Regions from separate parts of the Homo sapiens genome. Here region 2 is linked to region 1. The links are contacts of gene promoters, found by promoter capture Hi-C in human tissues and cell types (Jung and others, 2019). All regions are on one chromosome and are shown on one strand. The core of a region is centred on a gene start or on the middle of the fragment in contact, and the rest is flanking DNA. Distances in the headings are between cores, read along the strand shown. Region 1 holds the start of OR51F1 (olfactory receptor family 51 subfamily F member 1). Region 2 overlaps OR51E2 (olfactory receptor family 51 subfamily E member 2).

The links. The method cuts DNA at HindIII sites, captures the fragments that hold promoters and counts their contacts. A contact is called where the count stands out against the background at its distance.
Region 2: a contact is called between a fragment that was not itself captured here and the fragment with the promoter of OR51F1 in region 1, in 2 of the 25 tissues and cell types used here (H1 embryonic stem cells and pancreas).

Annotation. Positions count from the first base shown.
Region 1 is chr11:4,765,368-4,771,212 of GRCh38, forward strand. It overlaps OR51F1 (olfactory receptor family 51 subfamily F member 1), which reads right to left and starts at 4,571. Exons shown (of 1, transcript NM_001004752.2): 1 at 3,612-4,571. The coding sequence starts at 4,571. The coding sequence ends at 3,612. MMP26 (matrix metallopeptidase 26) reads left to right here. Exons shown (of 8, transcript NM_021801.5): 2 at 1,903-1,974. The HindIII fragment of the contact is 7,923 bases long and covers 2,729-5,845 here.
Region 2 is chr11:4,690,207-4,695,445 of GRCh38, forward strand. All of the region lies in intron 1 of OR51E2 (olfactory receptor family 51 subfamily E member 2), which reads right to left. OR51C1 (olfactory receptor family 51 subfamily C member 1) reads right to left here. Exons shown (of 2, transcript NM_001396051.1): 2 at 217-1,481. The coding sequence ends at 552. Among named protein-coding and RNA genes, the nearest start is that of OR51C1, 5.0 kb to the right of the region's middle. The HindIII fragment of the contact is 8,862 bases long and covers 1-5,239 here.

The DNA of each region.
Region 1 (5,845 bases), core at 3,321-5,820:
CTTCCTTCTCTCTTTAACTCAAGGTCAAGCCTACATCAAAGACTGACAGGTCCTGCTCCTCTATTCTTGCCTTCTTTTTGTAGTAAATGTTACCTAGCCCCTTGTTGGCTGCTTGTCTGTTTGGAAACAGGGAGTTTATGCTCTATTATCCATGTGCACACCAACTTGCTTGTTAAGCCCTCTTGTCTACCCTTCAGATCTTGTTGGTTCCTGTGATAATCGTAGCTCTGGCTTTTGGTGGTTACCTACTGCAACCTGGCTTCTATTATGTCAAGGCCTCCTCATATGCGTGGGTAGCCTGGCTTGCTGACTGCAGCTACTGCTGGCCTCTGTGATTAGTGGAAAAGAGCTACCACTCAGCTTCTTAGAGATGCTGGTATCATTTTCACAGCTAATTTCCAGTGGCTTCTGAACGATGTGTCCTCTGTGCACTTTTATGGAAAATGTATGGTGAGTCTTCCATCTTTACACAGTCTATTCCAGCATGCATACTTTCATCAGCCTCTAAATTCTTTCCTTTTCCATCTACTAGGGCAGCACAATCATTTTTCCAATATGCTGAATGTTGTCCAACACTTTTTCTAGCTAATTGTCACTCAGTAGTAAATTAGCTACATTCCTTGGTGTTCTTGTTAAGGTGTTAAAATTCGTATTCCAAATAAATGTCCCTACATTGATGCATTCTTGCTAATATAGTCTTCTATTCAGACCTCCTTGATCAACCATTCTCACTATTCAATCCAGAGGGCATTTCATGGATTTTTGCCATAAAATGCTTGCTAATTTTTGCTATTCTTCGGGTTATAGTCTCTTTCTTATCTTACTAGGCCCAGCACATTCCCAACAGATTTATGCTGGAATTTAATGCCAGTGTTCATTCTGGTGGTGAGAACAAGAGATGGAGAGAGCTCCAGGAGATAGAATTATGCGAAGTGGTGGAAATGATTGTTCTTACCAGAGAAGTGTGGGCCACCTCTGCAAGCCCAAGGATTATAAGGACTTTTGCATAATCAGTGTCTTCATGGGTCACTCACCCAGGTGCTTCTACTCGGTGTTTCATGGTACTACATTTTTCCCCGGATACAGATGTAACATCACAGACCTGCTTGGGTTGAGTACAGTATTTGAGGAGTTCTTTGACTCTAACAATTAGATAGAAATAGTCTTAAATAAGTTCATTCTTTCTGGCTATAGATTTTCTGTTGCTACAATAAAAAGTGATTTAATTAACTCACATCAGTAAATGGGTATCCTTGCTTGGTGTAACAAATGGGCTGTTTGGAAACTTATTTAAGTTACATCCTTAATTTCTCTCCCACTTTCCTTTCCCTCCCTCCCTCCCTCCCTCCCTTCCTTCCTTCCTTTTTTCATCCTTTTTCTCTCTCCCTTTTTTCTTTCCTCCCACGGTTTCTCTCTCTCTTTCTCTATGACATTCATTTTTTGCAGTGACTCTGACAATTTAAAAATTTTCTGCTGGTGGCTGTGCTATCGGTTCGGAATATTGCGATGAGTGCTTATTGTGATAATGTTAGTATATATTACATTATTTTACCACATCTATCTTTCTGATGTTCCAGCAGCTAGCAGGCATGTAGAATTACTCAAGAAAAAGACTCTCACATATAAAAGTCAGAAAGTGTAGCCAAATTTGTAAACTAAATCGATAAACAAATTCATTTACATAATGGCATTGTTTTATCAAAAGGTGTTTTTAAAGCTACTAACACAAATTTTATAATCTATGTTCACCTGGGGAAAGCTGAAGAAGAGAGAAAATAGAAGAAAAAAGGGTTTGTGTTTCATAATTTTCATGCCTATGTACAGACAGACCTTAAAACTCAGAAGATAATTCTTCCATGAATAGTAAAATTGTCATATAATATTTCTTCCATTTTTCCACAGAGTTTCTTACAAAATCGTCCTATCCAGCATGCACTTTTGGATACTCTTTCAACTCAGAAGTCAACATAAAGGGTAAAATTTTACTTTTATATTATGAATTATCACCCCAATAAGTCCATTATTTCATGACTTTTTGTTCATGTTGATGTTTTACACACACAAGATTTTAACCTTCGTGAGTGCACAGTAATATTTTTTATTGATCTTTTATTTTTTGTTGTTTCCCACGAGGTCAAACATAAAATATACCTACAGTCACTGTGTGCTGATAAACTGAATATTTAAAAACAGAAAAAGTTCTCAATGCTATTAAATTAAATTGAACAATGCTATTATATAAATATTTAAAAGAATTTTTACCAGTTCACATGGTATAAAAATTATCATTATCAGTGATTTCAAGCTACTAATATGACATCATATAATGCATAGTTAGATATGCAAAAATAGGCTCTTGCAAGCTGGTGTGTGCTCTCTCCAGCACACTGCTGCCCTCAGTATTTGTGGGGTACCTGGTACATTTCTTCCACCTATCACTATTTTTCCAATGGCAATAAAATTGATGTGACTGCCTTTAGGTTTCCATCTCCATTTCCCTCTGATTTTATTCTGCCATTATATGCAATTGACATTTTTAAGCTTCTGTCTGTCTCTTAAATCCAAAGAGTTACCATAAGTTCGTTTTCAGAAACCAAACATTTTGTGTCTGTCTCTGTAAAACTGTGTATAGGCAAGAACTATGAATTCTTTACCTTGGTTCTTTAGCTGGTTAAGGAGTCACATAGGTCTTTAATGGCATTTGTGAAAACTGTGAAAACTATGGAAAATAATGTGAGTATGTTTATCTATGGGGAAAGGTCCATAAATTTCATTAGCTTTCTAAGGGACCACAATGCAGAAAAAGGTTCAGAACATCTGCCCCAAACTTCCTTGTAATTTACTTTACATTCTTTTCTAGTTCTCTCAAGTTCCCATTCCCTGTGATAAATTAGCAAGTGTGCCTCACCCCTAAAGCTTTTCTTTGGACTGTCCAACACTGGATAGTGACTCACATGCCATGACATATCTATTCCTACCTTTTGTATTATGAATTATCCATGAAGAAAACAGCTAGAGTATATTCTAAGAAGGTTACTACAACTTTTTAAGACAAAGGATGGAACCATGGAGATCCAGGTCTTACTTTTGATCTTAAAACATTTCTGCTACATGACTTTGGCAGAGTATGTAATACAGTGATGAAGAGCATAGCATTTGAGATACAGAACACCTGGGTTCAAATCTCAACTGTGCCTCATGTTATTCACATGGCCTTTGGGGGCCTAAATGTCTATAAATCTGTTCCATCATCTGTAATATATCGCTAATAGTAATATATATTTCATTTCGCTGTTTTGGAAGAATAAATGGAATATGTCTTAAAAGCAGTTAGTAGAACACCTAGCCTGAAACAAAGAGTCAATACATGTTAATTGCCAGGAGTATTATTTATCATTTCATTATTGTTATTTTCCTAATTCCACTACAAATGTCTTGGGTGATATATCATACTTATATTTTATGACCAAATATACAACATATTTACTATTTGTTTGGTGAATGAAAAATATTTTAAAAACCCACATGCAATAGGCAGTAAGAGAGCAAGTTCGCTTTTCTACAGTGCAAGTCATTCATGCCAGGTTTGTATCAAATAAAACTATGTCTGTTCATTTTGTAAGCAGCAGACTGAGCATAGCCTTGCGGATTTGTTTTGTTTTTACACTGTCGATGATGGGGTTGAGCACAGGGGGTAAAAGCAGGTATACATTAGCCATCACTGAATGGACTACTCTGGGGGCTGACCGACCATAGCGATACACCAAGGACAGGCTCAGCATGTGGATGTAGAAGAAAGCAACTGCTCCCACATGGGAGACACAGGTGCTGAAGACCTTGTGCCATTCTTCAGGGGAGGCAATTCTGAGGACAGAGTGAATAATTAAGATATATGACAGGACAATGCATGGTGTATCTATTCCAGTGGTCAGGATGAGATCAATTAATCCACAGATGCTATTTGCCCGAATGTCTGAACATGCTAATTGAATCACATCTGGATGGTAACAATAGGAGTGAGAAAGGGCATTCATTCTACAGAAATAGAGAGGCTTAAGGAGCAAAAGTAGTGGCAATATTAGTACTATAGCACGTGTAATCATCAGAAGACCCATTTGAATGATTCTGGAATTAGTGAGAATGGTAGTGTACCTCAGAGGGTCACAGATGGCCACATAACGGTCAAAGGCTGTAGCCACCAGCACTCCAGATTCCATAAAAGTGAATCCATGAAGAAAAAACATCTGGACAATGCAGCTATATAGACTGATTTCACGTGCCTCAAACCAGAGGATACCTAATGTTGTTGACAATGAAGAAACAGTCAAGCCCAGATCAGTGGCTGATAGCCTGAAGAGGAAATAATACATGGGTTCATGGAGACTCTGCTGGGTAATGATGACAAACAGGATCACGCTGTTCCCAGAGAGGGCAATGGCATAAAAACAACAGAAAGGAATGGAGATCCAGACATGGGCAGACTCTAGGCCAGGAATGCCGGTCAACAAGAAGGTTGGAAATTTAGATGTTGAGTTGCTTAGGATTTCCATGGTGTCCTGGTTTTGCAGCATTTGTCCTCACAATGCTTCCATCCTATAGAAGTGATACATTAAGTGTTATGTAAAATATTTAGATACATTTTCTTTTAGTTAGTAGAGTTATCCAAGGTCATAGATAAGATCTGCATCATTGAGAAACCTTTAAATTAAATTATAATGTTCATCTACCACTCATAATCAGAAATAGTTCACAAAAATATGTTTTTGTACCATAAAATTCAAGGGAAATATGTCCATATGATTTTATACATTTTCATGATAGTGTCCATTTACAGAATATATTAAGATGCATCATATTGTAAGATTATTTGAATAAAGACTTAGCTGAGAAAAAATAAGTATCCTCAATTTTGAATATTTTGTGAGTACAATGAATAATAGCCACTTAAAAATATCCATGGTTCTTCAGTGACCATAAGGGTATGAGTCTGCAGACACAGATCTCCAGATATTTGCCAGGAATATAAAGTTATCAATGTATATTTATCATTTTCATCCAACACTATAGGTAAACAACTTCAGAGACTAGAATTATAAGAGAAAAACAATGAGGACAGAACTCTCCAGAAGACTGGAATGCACTATATACACTAAAGCAAGATGAGACTGGTTTTATGGGGACTATGAAAACCAAAAGAGGCTGGGCAGGTGGCTCATGCCTGTAATCCCAGCACTTTGGAGGCAGAGGTGGGCGGATCACGAGGTCAAGAGATCAAGATCATCCTGGCCAACATGGTGAAACCCCGTCTCTACTAAAAATACAAAAATTAGCTGGGCATGGTGGCGTGTATCTGTAGTCCCAGCTACTTGGGAGGCTGAGGCAGGAGAATCGCTTGAACCCAGGAGGCAGAGGTTGCAGTGAGCCAAGATTGCACCACCGCACTCCAGCCTGGTGACAGTGAGAGACTCCGTCTAAAAAAGAAGAAAAAAAAAAAACATGGTGTGAAGACCGGATGTTACATGAGCAGCTGTGTCGAATTGCTTGCGCTGTGAAGCCTAGTAAGGATTAAAAAATTCAAATGCAGCTGAGAGCCATTAGCGATCCCAGAAAAAACAGTGGAAAATTGAGAACCTGCTACAGTGTGGTAATGATGAAAGTATTAGCAGTGGAGGTACGGTTTATTTTAAGAAACTTGGCAGTGAAGGCAAGGGGAGAAGTAGGCCATGTCTAAAGAAGGGGTATCAGGTAGATGGAGAATTTTTGCAAGATGGGACAGAATTCGAGAAATTGATATGTTTATAAACGGAGGTTAAAAATGTAGCAGATAATGAGAAATTTAAAATAT
Region 2 (5,239 bases), core at 116-2,615, 78 kb before region 1:
TTAACATTTCATGCCTCAATTTTCTTATTGATAATTAAAGTGATTATCTTATAACATTGTTTTAGATATAAAATATGTTAATACATACAAAAAACACTTAGAACCATGACTTGTCAGAGCAAATAATAAATGGCAATCGAAATTACTAGAACAGTTGGAAAATACTACCTATTTCTCACAAAGGAGTGACTTTTCTGTAATGTGTCATTCTAAAGGCTATGAAGTAGATGAGATAATAACAGAAAGGGTGTTGGCAGGGACAGAAGGCAACAACAGTTTGGACCCAACAGTGGTGTGAGAAGGAGAAATTTTATATATAAGGCTAATTTTAGGCTGTTCATCTCTTCCATCCCATGTCTTCACCTCCTCATCTGGAAAATAAAGTAGTCAAACTAGCTGATGTTCTAGATACATTCCAGCTTTAACTTTAAATGATTATGTGCTTAGCTTCAATGGGCACCAGTTCTTTGGTTGTTTTTTGTTTTTAATTGGAAACATGACCTGAAGTATACCATCTTGAGGGGTCCATCTAGTGCTAGAATTCTACAATTTTATGTTTCTTTGGAATGGAGAATTTTTATCACAGCTCTACGTATCTGTTTGGTTTTCACACTGTAGATGACAGGGTTCATCAAAGGGGAGATCAGCAGGTAGGTGTTAGCAATCATAGTATGTACATAGGCTGGGGCTTGTTTCCCAAATCTGTGAACAATGGACAGACTGATCAATGGAATGTAATATATAGCAAAAGCCACAATGTGGGAGACACATGTACTGAAGGTTTCCTTCCTCTCTTCTGGGGAAGCAACGCTAAGGACAGTCCTAATGATCAAAACATAAGAAAGGAGGATGAGAAGTAAGTCTACACCAACAGTAGAGAACATGGCAGTCAGCCCAACTGCACTGTTGATTCTGGTGTCTGTGCATGAGAGCTTCATCACATCAGGGTGGTAGCAGTAGGAGTGGTGGAGTACTTGGCTGTGGCAGTAGGAAAGTCTTATAAGAAGTGCTACCATTGGTGTCAGCATTAGGAGCCCCCTGATGACACTTGCCACTCCAATTTGAGCTATTCTGGAGTCAGTTAAAATCATGGCATACCTAAGGGGATTAGAGACGGCCACAAAACGATCAAAAGCCATGGCCAACAGCACTGAGGATTCCATGACAGTGAAGAATTTAATAAAGAACATGTGGGACAAGCAGGCATTAAAGCTGATTTCCCTCACATTGAACCAGAATATACTCAGCATGGTGACCAGAGTGGATATGGACAGGCCGAGGTCAGTGGCGGACAGCATGGAGAGGAAATAGTACATTGGTTCGTGGAGGCTGGGCTGAGTGATGGTAGCGAAGAGGATCAGGCTGTTTCCCAAGAGAGCAGTTACAGAGAGGAAGCAGAAGGGAATGGAGATCCAGGTGTGGAAGGCTTCCAGCCCAGGAACACCAGTGAGCAGGAAAATGATGGAAGTGGAGGTGATATTCTGCAAAGTTGACGTGATGAATTAAAAGTACAGAACGAGATGAGAGCTTAAACAAAAAAAAGCTACATTCATTTGTGTATTGATCGAATTAAAATAATTTTATTGTACAGAAAACTGATGAGTATTTATATAATATGAAACTATGAATGGCTCATTTAAATTGATTAAAAAATGTCAGATTTCAACTGCTGTAGTGGGCACTTTGGTTTGTTTTTGAATTTGCCTTAGTGTACAATCTTTCTTCTCTAGGGCCCTTTGCTGGCAGCTATGTTTATATCATGTGACCACTCCTCTGATCGTTCTAGCCATAGATAACCAAACTAAGAATAAACACTTTACCCTGAGTTTGCCAATCATATTTCATTCTTTATGGCATGTTTAAATTGTGCTAAAGAGGTAGTGCATTATTTTTCCTCTATGGTTGGCACCAGAGAAAAATACACTGGGGCTGTGGAACAGCAATATTACATTGGTCATAAGTGTGGAAAGCAGAGAAGCTTACAGACAATTTGGGAAGCCAGAAAATATGAAGAAAGAGATCATTATAATACAAAGTAACACATAGGAAGTGACAAATAAATGGCTTCAGCATCTAACCATTAAAGAAACCCTTACAATATGATACCCGGCATCATATTTGGAAGAGATGGTTAGAACACAGACCTCCCACCAGGCTTAGGAAGACAGGAGGCTGCCCCCACCTGATATAATGTGCTGCCACGTTCCAACACAGTTCTCTCTTCAGTCTGCTGGAAGACTAGTTCTCCAGAACAGAATCTCTCTATTTTGTTAAGACATACTTCTTAGGAGATACCTAATTGAATGTTACTGTTTTGTTTCGGAGGGAAAAATATAACTTTATTGCAAACATCACATTTCTTTTTTCATAGAGTAGAGAATTGCAGAAAGGTAGATAGATGGGTATGGTTGAGTTGAAGACGGGGGTCTAGGGAAAAACAGAGATTAGGGTTGTGGCTGCAGAGGGCTCAATCAATGAGAGAGAGCCAGTTGCAGGGTAACTTCTTCAGAGGAAAAGAAAGGGTGCTGGGTGGCTGACAGTAAGTGTTGACAAAAGAGAGGATGGAGAGGAACCTCAACGTATCCAGACTCACACATTCACCCTGATAAAGTGCCACCTCAAGGATCACCGGAAGAAGTCTTAGTGAAAAAAAAAGGGGGGGTGGGGGTGTGATTTAACTAAAATTAACAGAAAACTAGATGAAAAACAAGAAATTATAGATTACACGATTTGGCCAAATAATGAAACTATAGCTTTAGATTCTGAAATTTACAGTAATGACAGTGTCCTCAGGCGAGTGATGAAAATATCTAAAATGTATGATCAAACCTCTTAGAGAAATAAGAATTATAGTTAATGTATAGTATATTTCAAAAAAACTAAAAGAGAGAATTTTAAATGTTCACAGCACAAAGAAATGATAAATATTTGAGGTGATGGATATGATAATTAGCTTGATTTGGTCATTCCACAATGCATACATGTATAACAACATCACATTTTACCCCACAAATATATACCATATTATTTGTCAACTAGAAATAAGATAAAATGATTTTGAAAAACCAAAACACACTAAAAAGGAATTACCAGAAAGAGAGCATTCAGTAGGTTTGTAGTATTTGGAGAAGGCTTTCTAGAAAAAGCAGTGCTTGAAAGATTTCTGTGTTTTATGTAAGTTGAGACGAAGAATTCCCAGGCTTTCAGAACGGCATGTGTAAAAGTGTTGAGCAGGCTGGGCGCGGTGGCTCACGCCTGTAGTCCCAGCACTTTGGGAGGCCGAGGTGGGCGGATCACGAGGTCAGGAGATCGAGACCATCCTGGCTAACATGGTGAAACCTCGTCTCTACTAAAAATACAAAAAATTAGCCGGGCGTGGTGGCGGGCGCCTGTAGTTCCAGCTACTGGGGAGGCTGAGGCAGGAGAATGGAGTGAACCTGGAAGGCGGAGCTTCCAGGTGAACCGAGATGGCGCCATTGCACTCCAACCTGGGCGACAGAGCGAGACTCCGTTTCAAAAAACAAACAAACAAACAAAAAACTGTTGAGCAACAGTGCACTTGTAACACTTCTCTTGATCTTGCTTTACTATCTCAGGGACATTAACTGAGTATCTGGATCTTACATAGTGCTATTTTAGAAGCTAAAGGACAACACAAATAAAACCCCACTTAGAGAGTTTATAATCCAGTGAGGCAGAAAGAGCAGAACCGTTTTTCAATAATTTCAATATCTCATATACAGCGATGAATAATAAAAATGGTTATGAAAGTACAGAGGGGCTCCATTTATGTCAATTAATTCTGGCTTTCATGATTTTTAGTTCCTACGCAATATCTGAGTTGTAATTTTTGTCATTGTGTTGTAGGACATTTTATGTAACCACTTAAAAAAATTAAATTGCTATTTGAATAATTTCTCTTTCATCCTAACTTCTTCATATCTCCCATTACCTCATTTCAACAATTTATTCATTGCCTATTTTCATTCTTCTTGGTAGTTTTTTTCCTCCTTCTTGCCAAGAGATCATAAACAAAACAAAAGAAAACCATAGTGTATATATTTTGACCTGATCTGTGTTGGGCCTAGCAAAAAAAAAATGACTTCTCTCCTTTCCATCACTTTACAAGCATATCTTCCTGCATCCTTCCTACGTTCACGCTGGGCTCAGAGACAGAGGGTACCTTATTCTTTTTCCTAGCCAATAACTCCACTTTAGCTCCTATCAACCAGAAACACTTAGTTCAGTTCAAACTGAACTAAACTATACATATATATACGTGTATATATATATATACACACACATATATATATATACACACACACATATATACGTATATATATATACACACACACATACATATATATATACACACACACACACACACACACACATATGCAGGGAGCTGAGCTTGCTGTGTCAAGAGTCTAGGGACTCTTACTGAAAATAAAAAATGACTAATTTTAAATATCTACTACATGCCAGACAGCGTCTATCAGCAGTAACAGAAACAAACAGATAAATGCTACTAGTTGTAGAGTGTATAAGGATAGGATGTATCTAATTGATAAGGCAGAAGAGATAATAGTGTGGAGTGGCAGATTTGGAGTGTGTGCATACATGAATGTGTCTGTGTGTGTCAAGAAGAACTAGTTCCAAGAATGTTAACAGAATGTATGCTTTATAACTGTGTGAAGTTTTGATGGGTAAATGTGAGTTTATAAGGATGAAAAACAGGGGAAGTGTGCTTTTGCAGTGCCGTTGATAAAATGAGGAGAGACATGAATGAAAGAATAACATAAGCCAGTTTGTTGGATAACTACAAGAGAAGGGGTATATCGAAGTCTTAAATGTGAGGCTAGGTGCTGTGGGAAATGAAGCTAGAGAAAGCACCAGAGGTCAAATCATGAAAATCTTGAATTCCATGGACAGTGTAATGAACTTAAATTTTTGCAGAGCATCAAGAGCCAGACATTTCTAACATTTTATTCACCTTTTATTGACCACTGGAAGCAAGGAGCTTTGCTTTTAATAAATAAATCATTTTCCATCTCTTCTCATTTAATGCCAACAAAATTCCTTTCCCTCTTTAGTATCTTGTTTAGTGCCATTGGTTGCTTTTTTGAAGTCTGCAATACTCAAGTTTTACTCTAACTCAACAATAAAAGCTTCCCACAGTTTTGTATAGATATTTCCAAACAATTCATTTCAACCAGGATATATTGAATAGTTTTCATAA